4 separate regions of the Homo sapiens genome follow, and regions 1, 2 and 4 are each linked to region 3. The links are contacts of gene promoters, found by promoter capture Hi-C in human tissues and cell types (Jung and others, 2019). All regions are on one chromosome and are shown on one strand. The core of a region is centred on a gene start or on the middle of the fragment in contact, and the rest is flanking DNA. Distances in the headings are between cores, read along the strand shown. Region 1 has its middle 36 kb from the start of TGM6. Region 2 overlaps TGM3 (transglutaminase 3). Region 3 holds the start of TGM6 (transglutaminase 6). Region 4 overlaps TGM6 (transglutaminase 6).

Region 1 (2,965 bases), core at 286-2,785, 36 kb before region 3:
ATATTAATTGAAGATAGACTGTGACAAGTTAAAGATCTGTATTATAAACCTAAAGAAACCAGTAAAAGAAAAGAAGGCCGGCGTGGTGGCTCACACCTGCAATCTCAGTACTTTGGGAGGCCAAGATGGGTAGATCACTTGAGGCCAAGAGTTCAAGACCAGCCTGGCCAATATGGTGAAACCCCATTTCTACTTTAAAAAAAAAAAAATTATCCAGGCGTGGTGGCACATGCCTGTAGTCCCAGCTACTCAGGAGACTGAGGCAGGGGAGTTACTTGAACTTGAGAGGCAGAAGTTGCAGTGAGCCGAGATGGTGCCACTGCACTTCAGCCTGGTTGACAGAGTGAAACCCTGTTTCAAAAAAGAAAGAGAAGAAAAAGAAAAGAAAACAAGCTGGCCATGGTGGCTCACGCCTGTAATCCCAGAACTTCAGGAGTCTGAAGCAGGCAGGTCACCTGAGGTCAGGAGTTTGAGACCAGCCTGGCCAACATGTCAAAACCCCGTCTCTACTAAAAATACAGAAATTAGCTGGGTGTGGTGGTGCATACCTGTAATCCCAACTACTTGGGAGGCTGAGGCAGGAAAATCTCTTGACCCTGGGAGGTGGAGGCTGCAGTGAGCTGAGATCGCACCACTGCACTCCATCCTGGACAACAGAGTGAGACTCCATCTAAAAAAAAAAGAAAACAACAAGAAAACCCAGTTATCAGTAACAAACCAACAAAGTAAACGCAATGTAATAGTAAAGAATACTCAATTAATAGAAAAAGAAGGCAGAAAAGGAGAAAAGGGAACAAAGAATAGTTGAGACAGATTTTAAAAATAAGTAGCAATATGGTAGATTAAACCCAACCATACTAATAATCACATTAAATGTAAATGGCCCAAACACCCAAATAAAAGGCAGCTATTGTCAGATTGGGTAAAAAAGCAAGACCCAACTATATACTGCTACAAAAAATCAAATTTGAATATAGAATAGAAATTGGTTAAATGTAAAAGAATACAAATTATATACCATACAAATAGTAACCATAACAAACCTGGAGTGGCTATACAAATATTAAACAAAATAGCCAAAGATTGTTACTAAAGAAAAAGAATATTTTTGAATGATAAAAGAATCAATCCATCAAGAATAAAAATTATAAGTAGTCTCAATGTTCTTTGAATGCAAAGAAATTAAATTAGATGACAATAACATAAATATATCTGGAAATCTCCAAACATTTGGAAACTAAAGAAAAGACTTCTGAATAACCTATGGGTCAAAGGAGAAATTTTTAAAGAGAATTATAAAGTATTTTAAACTAAAAACACAGCATATAAAAATGCATAGGATGCAGCAGAGGAATATTTATAGCACTAAAATGTCTATATTAGAAACGAAAAAAATCAATGAACTCACCTTCCACCTTAGGCAGCCAAAAAGTGAAGAAATTAAACCAGGCCGGGCGCGGCGGCTCACGCCTGTAATCCCAGCACTTTGAAAGGCCAAGGCCCATGGATTACCTGAGGTCGGGAGATCGAGACCAGCCTGAGCAACATGGAGAAACCCCGTCTCTATTAAAACTAAAAAATTAGCTGGGCGTGGTGGCAGGCACCTGTAATACCAGCTACTCAGGAGGCTGAAGCAGGAGAATCTCTTGAACCTGGGAGGCAGAGGTTGTGGTGAGCAAAGATTGCGCCATTGCACTCCAGCCTGGGCAACAAGAGCAAAACTCCGTCTCATAAAAAAAGAAAGAAATGAAGAAATTAAACCTAAAATCTAAAATAAATGGAAAAGGAAATACCAAACAGCATAAATCAATAAAACAGAAAATAGAAAAACAAAATAGTAATTCAATGTAACTAAAAGTGGGTTCTTTCGGAACATGAATAACATTGATAAGTCTCTAGCCAGACTGATCAGCAAAAAATAAGAAAGACACAAATTACTAATATCAGGAATAAGAGACCCTATAGCTATTTGAAGAATAATTTAGAAATATTATGGACAAACTTATGCATAAAAAGCTTGACAACTTAGCTGGGCATGGTGGCTCATGCCTGTAGTCTTGGGAGGCCAAGGCTGGAGGATCACTTGAGCTCAGGAGTTCAAGACCAGCCTGGGCAACATGGCAAGACCTTGTCTGTATCAAAAAAAATAGCCAGGCACGGTGGCACACACCTGTAGTCCCAGCTATTCAGAAGGCTGAGGTGAGAGGATGGTTTGAGCCCAGGAGGCAGAAGTTGCAGTGAGCCAAGATTGGGCCATTGCACTCTAACCTGGGTAATAGAGCCAGACCCTGTCTCAAAAAAAAAAAAAAAAAAAAAAAAAAGGTTGACAACTTAGATAAAATGAACAAATTCCTTGAAAGACACAAACTATCAAAACCCATTGAGGAAGAAATAGATATCCAAAGTATCCCTATATCTATTTTAAAATTTGAGTTTGGAGTGAAGTTCAGTAGAAAACTCTCCAGCCGAGCCTAACACAAATTGCTGGCCATAGAACTGGTTGTCGTCTTGTCACCACATTTTCATGTGGTTTGTTATACAGCATAGGATATTATTTATTGTTGTATTATATTAATTATCACCACGAAAATATTTATTCACTCTCCAGTGCTCAGTTCAAATGTTTCCTCTCCTGCAAAACCTTCCCCATCTTCCTCCCACATCACTGCATCCAAACACACGAGGTCTCTTTTTTTCTCTCTATGCTTTCCCTTCATTGTCTTTTTGGACCACTTGGCTTAAAGTCGTCTGGCCTACGTCTCTCCTCCCCTGTCCTAGACTTTGTGCTTGTCATGGGCAAAAACCATGTCTTCTTTAGCCCTACATTCTCCACACTTAGCATAATACCTGGTGTAGATAAGCACCCATAAGAATTCATAAAAGAGCCAAAAAGTAAATGAAATTGGTAATGAATGAATGAATGAAGTGACTGATTGAATTTTAATATGTAATATTCATTGAGAGT
Region 2 (2,846 bases), core at 234-2,733, 54 kb before region 3:
TGAGTAAGACCTTGGCTACCTGGCTGTGCCCGGTGAGGGGTGAGTGGTGACTGAGGCTTACTAATTGAGACATAAGACAAAGAACATTTGAGGACTGGCAGGTGTCATTCTTCAGTTCAGATCCCAGCCAAGAGACGGTGTGGCTCTTAGATAAGTCAGCCACTCCTGCAGCAACCCCATTCATTTTCGGCCAACACCAAGCACAGAAGCATACCCCGCCAGGCAGAGGGAGAAAGCTGTGTGGGTTTGCCCCTGGGTGGCTGGCTCCAATCTGGATTCGTTCTGCTCCTTAGAAAGGTGCATGCTGGTCAAGGCTTTGACTTTTGAGTTAGGCATACATGGGTCCACATTTTGACCCTGCCATTGTTAGATGCTTAACTTCTCTGAGCCCAAGTTTCCCTTTTTATAAAACGGGCATAAAAATGGTACCTATTGCACAGTGCTGTGAGGATTTCCACGAGACGATGCTCACCAGGGCTTAGCATAACCGCCGTCACAGGGCAAACTCACTCGATGCATGTTGTCATGCTGCACTGTTGGGGCAAAGATGTGCTGTCTTGCCACTCATCTGCTGTGTGGTCTTGGGCAAGCGCTGCAGTCTCTGGTTCTATCTGCAGGAATTTCCATGTCTGGAATGAAGGCTGGTTTGTGAGGTCTGACCTGGGCCCCTCGTACGGTGGATGGCAGGTGTTGGATGCTACCCCGCAGGAAAGAAGCCAAGGTAACTTCTCTGGGTGTGGTTCTGAGTCGTGAGCCTCACAGTTATTTACAGCCATGGACAGCAGCATAGGGAAGTAACTCCAAAGCCCTCTCCCTCTGGAATGCATGATGGGATTAAAACAAAAATAGTTTAAAAATAGATCTCCCCTGCTAATTTTGCTTGGCTCGGGCTGCTGTTTAAATGAGTGCCTGCCCTGCACCCACAATGGCCACTGTTGCTGCACAGAGCCTTGGCACAGGCCAGGTGGGCAGAGAGAGCAGCCTTCCTCTGCCAGTAATGATTTTCCTTCACCAACTGCAGCAGCCTCTCCTTCCCAGCACAGAAAATTCATGGTTCCCTGTTGCCCTTGGGGTTTAGTCCACATTCTCCACTGGTCACCACCCACAGCAGCTCTCTCTGCCACACCAAGCTCCCCCTTAGGCAGGCTGCCTCTGCCATCCCTATCCCGGGCCTCTGCTTCCTCCTCTGGCCTCCCTCTGTCTCCTGCCCCATCAGGGGTTGGGTCCCAGGCTCTCCTGGAGCCTTTCCTCTTCCCTTCTCTGACCTCTAGAGCATGACTTGTCTGTTACCCTCATTTTCAGTTGTTCTTTGAAACATTAAAAAGTGATTTATGGGGCTGGGAGTGGTGGCTCACACCTGTAATCTCAGCACTTTGGGAGGCCAAGGAGGGTGGATCTGTTGAGATCAGGAGTTCAAGACCAGCCTGACCAACATGGTGAAACCCCGTCTCTAGTAAAAATACAAAATTAGTCGGGCATGATAGTACATGCCTTAATCCCAGCTACTTGGGAGGCTGAGGTGGGAGAATCGCTGGAACTCAGGAAACGGAGGTAAAGCCGTGAGCCGAGATCATGCCGTGGCACTCCGGCCTGGGAGACAGAGCAAGACTCCGTCTAAAAAAAAAAAATGTGATATATGAAGTAATATGTGCATGTAGTTGAAAAAAATTCAAACTATTCTAAAAGGACTAACAATAAAACTTAAGTCTTACCACACCCCCAACCCCTAGCTCCTCTACCAGAATCAGTGCACGTTACTAGATTTGGGGGCTTGGAGGTAACTGAGACATTTGCTAGGCCACAATTTTCCAAAAGTTTCATTGCAACCCATTAGTGGTTATAAAATCTAGTTAGTGGGCTGTGTCCATCATTTTAGGAAAAGAAAATGAAATGGAATGGAACGGAAAGCAGGGAAAAGAACATAAACTATCAAGGCTCATTAGATATAGTTAGACTAGGCTGGGCGCAGTGGCTCACGCCTGTAATCCCAGCACTTTGGGAGGCCGAGGTGGGTGGATCACGAGGTCAGGAGATCGAGACCATCCTGGCTAACATGGTGAAACCCCGTCTCTACTAAAATTACAAAAAAAAAAAATTAGCCGGGCGTGGTGGCGGGCGCCTGTAGTCCCAGCTACTGAGAGAGGCTGAGGCAGGAGAATGGCGTGAACCCGGGAGGCGGAGCTTGCAATGAGTCGAGATTGCACCACTGCACTCCAGACTGGGCGACAGAGCACGACTGCATCTCAAAAAAACAAACAAACAAACAAAAAAGATATAGTTAGACTAAAGACCATTGTCCTGTGAAACTTTTGTTTCTGTATCATATGTGTGCCAAGATGTCAAATGTATTTCTTTCTAGGGGTTGTGGTGAAAAAAGCTGAAAGTCACTGACATCTATCTATCTATCTATCTAAGCTTCCTATGCTGAGTGCTAAGAAGAGGGAAGAAATGGTCAGGCTTGGGAGCTCAGAGGAACAAGAGGTCCCTGCAGGCTGCCTGTTCAGGGAAGTCTTCCTGGACTAGGAAGGTGATGAGCTTCTAGGCCAGAATGACTTGCAGAGGTAGAAAAGAGGCAGCCACCCTGAGCACGAGAAAGCAAGACTTTCCTCTTTAGGAAACAGACCAAGGACAGTGGGTCAGCATGGATTAGGCGCCCGGAATGCGGAATTGTGTAGTCTTATGTAGAGGTTGAGTTCGACCAGCAAGAGAATCATAGCCCGGGAGGGTCTCTGCAGAATGCCAAATGAGTGGGACACACAGTCAGGGGTGAAGGAATTTGGGCGGGGCAGAGGCAGGGGGTTGCAGTGGTCCTGGAAGGCCCTGGGGAATCGGGCACTGGGTAGGTT
Region 3 (3,013 bases), core at 253-2,752:
CACCCTAGGTGACAGAGCGAGACCCTGTCTCAAAAAAAAAAAACGAGGAGTATGAATTATTATTTGGGGTCTCGAGCAGTGGGGCAGGCAGTGATTTTGATGCCCTGTCTTCTGGGAGCTCCCGTCCAAGCAAGCCCAGGATGAAAGATAAAAGGGCCCTGAATAAGACCATCATTAGTGGGGAGGAGCCTGACCCTGCATAGGCAGAAAAGCAGCTTCAGCAGGGCCCAGGGTCTACAGGGCAGCAGCCTGCAGGGTGTTGAGGAAGGAGCTGCCCTGGGCTGCTGCCAGATGTCAGTAATTATAAGGCTATGTGGGTCTGCAGACAGCTCATTAAAGACGCTTGATCTGCGTGAAACCAGGAAGCAGAACTCAGCCTCTTTGCCACTTTCTGTAAGAAATCCAACCACATCAAACACTTTGGGGTTTTTATGCAGTTTCCTGAATGTTGGGGTGATCCCAGGGAGCGGCCTCATCCTACTGTGCTCAGCACACGGTTGTCTCCTTACCCTTCCTTGTCTCTTTCCCTCGATTCTACCCCCTCCCACTTCCCCTTCCTCACTGGCCCAGGCCACATCCAGCCTTCGATAGCCCCAAGTCATCCATCAAAGCATTTCTCCGGCAAAAAGAAACCTACCCCACCGGCTTCCATGAAAATAAAATCCCCTCTATTTCATTAACAAAAGACCTCAGATGCCTTGAATTCCAGCACCTTCAAGCCCAGAATCTTAGACTTTGAGCTGGAATGGCCCTGAAGAATAATTGAGTCCAATCCCTTTAGTTTGTAGGTAGAAACACCAGGGTTCCAGGAGGGGAGAGGTCTTGTCCAAGGTCACGGGACACCCATGGCCACCAGGCCTCTAAGCTCCTGGCTGGAGGCCACTCACAAAGTCAGGGCAGATGGGCCTAGCTTCTGAGTCAGAACCAGCTCTCCCCTTTTTCTTATCTACCTCCTCTCAAGAGTCTAGTGTCCACCAAGGAAGTCTAGTGGCCCTGAAGGAGGATCATGGACCTCTGCCTCTTTAGATGCCTGCAGAACAGAGTGGAGCTGTGGGCCCAGGAGTCTTCTGCTCTCACCCAGGAGGGGAGAGGGAGCCACAGACTGACCCGGCACTGCAGCGTGCAACCATGTACTTCGGGGTCCTGGCGCTGAGCCTGTTTTTTCTCATTTGAGGGTTGTTGTGAGGGCTAAGAATGGCCAACCATAAATCCGAGTTCCCTCAGTCTTCTCTCTTTCCCCGTTCTTTTTCTTGCCAGGCTTGTGACCTTTCTGAGCCTCAGTTTCTCCACAGTCCCATTCGCAACTCCGTGTTTCCAAGGTCTCTTGGCAGGAGCCACTCCCACAGTGAACCCCTCTAGGTGCAATTACAGGATGATTTTGTGTCTCGTGGGTGTCGCTGCTAGGGTGGAGGGCCACGCCTCCTCTTTTGAATTCTGACTTTCCTGCCTAGGAGTGTCCCAAGGTTTTCCTTGTTAAAATTGGTCTGGCTGGCTGCTGTGACGCGCCACACTGTCCTGACGGTGCACACACTGCTGTGTGGAGGAACAGAGGAGTCCAGCTGGCCTTCACATGGCAGGTAAGTGGGCAGAGCCTGGGGCCTTGGGACACCAGGGCTCATGAGGGGGGCTTCAAGAAACACGGGTCTGTGGGATGACGTTTGATCATCGATTGTTAGGATTTTACAGCTGGATAGTCCACCATGAACACATGAACTCTTCGTGTGGATTCATGAGGCCCAGGATGAAAAAGCCAGCTTTAAGCCACCCAGCAAGGCCATGGCCCAGGCTGGCTCAGGCGCTGTCTCCTGGGCTGGGGCCAGGTCTCACCCCTGTGCCTCGGAGGACTGAAGGAGGCAGGCACAGGAAGGCAGGGGCAGAAAAAAGAAAATCTCCTTGCACCCCATGCACATTCCATGGATCCAGAGACGTTTCTGGGCATAGTTGGGAATTGTGGCCTGCGTGGGAAGGAGTGAGAGGCCCCCACCGGCTGCATCCTCGCCTGATTCCCACCCCAAGCACTTGAGGGCAAGAGCAGCTCTGGCTCAAGTGAAAACAGCTATATGACCTTGAGCAAGAAAATTTGCCCTTGGTACCTCTGTTTTCTGATCTGTGTAATGGGGATTATAATGCAAATTATCTCACAGCCTTGCTGTGAGGAGTTGGTGAGACCACGTGTGCTGTTCTCCCACCACACATCTCAAGTGGGGACTTGTAAACAGTAGACTCAGAAAATGTGGGTCGGGCACAGTGGCTCACGCCTCTAATCCCAGCATTTTGGGAGGCTGAAGGGGGTGGAATTCTTGAGCTCAGGAGTTTGAGACCAGCCTGGGCAATGTGGCAAAACCCCGTCTCTACAAAAAAATACAACAATTAGCTAGGCATGGTGGGGAACACCCAAAGTCCCAGCTACTTGGGAGGCTGAGGTGAGAGGATCGCTTGAGCTTAGGAGGTAGAGGCTACAGTGAGCCAAGATGGTGCCACTGCACTGCAGGCTGGGCAACAGAGTGAGACCCTGTCTCAAAAAAAAAAGAAAGTAAGATAATGTGTCCCCCACGACCTCAATATAGTGAGCAGCAAACTCCCTCTGCAAGAACTTGTCTTAGATGCTGGGGCCCGGTAATGAGCAAGTCAGCAGAACCAGGGGTCCTACACTCACAGGTATTCAAGGGGTGTTTCTGAGTCTGTGTCTGCCAGTTTTAATTGTTCAGCATTATGTGACAGTTTTATGAATCAAATATTTTTTTAACTTTCAAAGGCAGATATTTGAATTTCCTCATCATAGTCTAGCTTCCTCTTCATATTTCCTCCTGGCAGTTAACAGCATTGCTGGACGTGTTGGGCCCTTCAGGCTCCTAGGATAGGTCTGTTCTGAAGACCAGGCCTTGCCAACACCAGCTCACAGCCCAGACTGCCTGTTTCCAGAGCTGGGGTTGCCTCCCTGATGGCCCTGGTGCAGAGGGGATTGCCTTTGTTCCTCCAAGATCTGCTTCTCAAAGTTCACCTAGATGATCCC
Region 4 (3,064 bases), core at 263-2,762, 53 kb after region 3:
CCTCTGCCCTACTTTGTAAACTTAGGCAAGTTCCTTCTCCTCCTGGGCCTCAGTTTACTCTTCTGTAAAATGAAGTGTTGCACTCAGTAATCCTTAAACTTTTGGACAACCATAGATGATGTAAGAACCGAGGGAGCCTCTCCAACCTTCATCTCTCATCCCCATGGCTGGGAGGTTGACAGACCCGAGCATCAGAGAAACCCTGGCCCACTCAGCTCTGCCATCTTCCACCCTGCCACCTCGCTGTCACCCTGGCTGACCCTTGGACTCTCCTTGCTTTTCAAATGCCCTGGCCACATCAAGAGCCAAGGATCCTCCCCACAGTCCTGACAGAGAATCCAAAAGTATCAGAGCTGGAACCTAACCATCCCTCAACACTCCCATTACAGAGAAGAAGGAAACTTACAGAGGCCACAGGGTGAGCTAGAGGCAGAGTGGAGGCCCATGTGTGTGCCATTTATACCTCCTAAGTCCCGATCCTAAAAAGCATTAGATTTTAAGCAAAGGGAGATTTTCCCTCAGTGAAGACACAGGCCCAGGATCTGAGGGGCGATTGCTGCCTAGGATAATCTTAAGAAGATAAAGGAAGGGCCCAAACTGGATTGCATTCCTCTAAAATCTGCAGCCCCAAATCTGAAGAGGGCCAGTGACTAACAGCACAAACAACAGCAAACACCTCACAGGGCTCAACTTACACAATTCTGACCGAACAATTAAAGTTGAGAAAATGTTTCATTCAATGGGTGCCAAAACTGTTGCCCCCAGATCAGCTGCAAACAAGAGCAGAGCTTTCCGTGGAAATTGTAAACAAGGGATCAAGATCCCGAAGCATTTCTTCAAAGAATTGTAACAGGATGGAACATGGCTTTACCAATACAGTCCTAAAGACAAAGCACAATCGAAGCAATGGCTACCAAGAGGGGGAAATGGTTCAGTCAAAGCAACAGTGGACCAGCCGGCCAGGCGCGGTGGCTCACACCTGTAATCCCAGCACTTTGGGAGGTCGAGGTGGGCGGATCACTTGAGGTCAGGAGATCAAGACCTGCCTGGCCAGGTGAACCCCATCTCTACTAAAAATACAAACATTAGCCAGGTGTTGTGGTGTGTGCCTGTAATCCCAGCTACTCGGAAGACTAAGGCAGGAGAATCACTTGAACCCAGGAGGTGAAGGTTGCAGTGAACCGAGATTGCACCACTGCACTCCAGCCTGGGCAACGGAGCAAGACTCTGTCTCAAAAAAAAAAAAAAAGTGGACCGGTCAGGTGCAAAGCTTGTAGAAACTGTTTTTTGGGATGCTCAAGACATTTTGCTTGTCGGTTTTCTGGAGAACCAAAGAGTAACAACACCTGCTTATTACGAGTGTTTTGATAAAGTTAGCTGAAGCTTTCAGAAAAAAACCCAGAAAAGCTTCACCAGAGAGTCCTTCTCCACGACAATAATGTTCCTGCTCATTCCTCTCATCAAACAAAGGCAATTTTGTGAGAGGGTTGACTGGAATTCATTAAGCATCCACCATACTGTCCTGATTTGGCTCCATCTGACTTCTTTTTATTTCCTAATCTCTTTTTTTTTTTTTTTTTTTGAGACAGAGTCTTGCTCTGCCGCCCAGGCTGGAGTGCAGTGGCGCGATCTCAGCTCACCTCAACCTCTGCCTCCCGGGTTCAAGCGATTCTCCCGCCTCAGCCTCCTGAGTAGCTGGGATTACAAGCGTGTGCCACCACGCCCGGCTAATTTTTGCATTTTTAGTAGAGATGGGATTTCACCATGTTGGTCAGGTGCGTCTCAAACTCCTGACCTCAAGCGATCCTCCTGCCTCAGCCTTCCAAAGTGTTGGGATTACAGGCATGAGCCACTGGGCCCAGCCTGTTTCCTAATCTTAAAAACAAAATCTTTAAAGGGTGCCCGTTTTTCTTCAGTTAATTGTGTTAAAAAAAAAAAAAAGACTGTGTTGACATGGTTAAATCCCCTGGACCCTCAGTTACTTAGGAATAGACTAAATGGCAGGTATTATTATTTACAAAAATATCTTGAACTTGACAGAGCTCATGTTGAGAAATAAAGTTTCTACTTTTTATGTTTATGTTTTAATGTTACTTTTCCATGAACCTTTTGAAGTCCCCTTGTAGGTGTTTAGGGAGGGGAATGTAGCTGAAGGTGGTGAGGGCCACCTGCCACATAGCTCTGTTTCCAGTACAACGCTCTTGCCCTTGGTGCCTTCGAGTAGCATTTTAATGGGACAAAAGTGGCCTCCCTGGTTATTCCAGCCCCAGTGGAAAGCAGAAGCCGCCCCAACAGCCAATGAGAAAGCCCTGCTTGTGAGTGGGAGAGGTAGAGAAATTGACAGAAGACAGCTTAGAAGTCCAAGGGAGAGTGTGAGTGGGAATGTGGTTTTGGAAATTACAAAGAAAAATGTGCAGGTAGGGAATTCCTTTCAGCTGGTAGGGCAAGACCCTGACCATGTGCTTAACACAGGAAGGGCAGAACAGGTAGTTCAAGACTGAGAAAAGCCTTAGAATTGGCTGGCCATGGGACACTCAGAAGGACACCAGCAACAGGGCTTTACTGAGTCTCAGGACTCCTGCTTCCATTGAGTCCCCCTGTCTCTTAAACACTATCTGAAACTTCATGAAGGCCCTTGACACCAAGTTAGGTCAGGGATCTGAGCTTTCACATACCAGAGGGGCCTCCAAACCTTTAGAACAGAGGTTGGCAAACTTTTCTGCCAATGACCAGATAGTAAATATTTCAGGCTTTGCAGGCCATAGAGTCTCTGTTACAACTACTCAACTCTGCTGCTATAGCATGAAAACTGCCATACTTAGTGCATAAACAAATGAGCCTGGATGTGTTGCAATAAAGTTTTACTTACAAAAACAGGTGGCAGGCCAAGTTTGGCCCACAGGTTGTAGTTGACTGACCTTGCCGTAGGACAACACATTGCTTCCAATCTTGCTCCAGGACTGAGCTCTGACACCAGGCTACACCTTGCCCTAGCATCGAGCCTAAACCTGAGCCAAGGCCAAGCCCTTAACAAGCCTCGGACTGAAACTAGGATGAGGCTCCA

What was found. Contacts are between HindIII fragments. The study calls those that stand out against the background at their distance.
Region 1: a fragment that was not itself captured here is called in contact with the fragment with the promoter of TGM6 in region 3 in 4 of the 25 tissues and cell types used here (H1 embryonic stem cells, pancreas, spleen and 1 more).
Region 2: a contact is called between a fragment that was not itself captured here and the fragment with the promoter of TGM6 in region 3, in 2 of the 25 tissues and cell types used here (ovary and thymus).
Region 4: a fragment that was not itself captured here is called in contact with the fragment with the promoter of TGM6 in region 3 in 1 of the 25 tissues and cell types used here (adrenal gland).

The regions. Positions count from the first base shown.
Region 1 is chr20:2,343,051-2,346,015 of GRCh38, forward strand. No RefSeq gene overlaps it. Among named protein-coding and RNA genes, the nearest start is that of TGM6, 36 kb to the right of the region's middle. The HindIII fragment of the contact is 8,143 bases long and covers 1-2,965 here.
Region 2 is chr20:2,325,232-2,328,077 of GRCh38, forward strand. It overlaps TGM3 (transglutaminase 3), which reads left to right. Exons shown (of 13, transcript NM_003245.4): 8 at 618-721. Among named protein-coding and RNA genes, the nearest start is that of TGM3, 31 kb to the left of the region's middle. The HindIII fragment of the contact is 4,472 bases long and covers 1-2,846 here.
Region 3 is chr20:2,379,399-2,382,411 of GRCh38, forward strand. TGM6 (transglutaminase 6) reads left to right here and starts at 1,503. Exons shown (of 13, transcript NM_198994.3): 1 at 1,503-1,577. The coding sequence starts at 1,571. The HindIII fragment of the contact is 30,296 bases long and covers 1-3,013 here.
Region 4 is chr20:2,432,751-2,435,814 of GRCh38, forward strand. TGM6 (transglutaminase 6) reads left to right here. Exons shown (of 13, transcript NM_198994.3): 13 at 1-3. Among named protein-coding and RNA genes, the nearest start is that of SNORD119, 29 kb to the right of the region's middle. The HindIII fragment of the contact is 3,952 bases long and covers 1-3,064 here.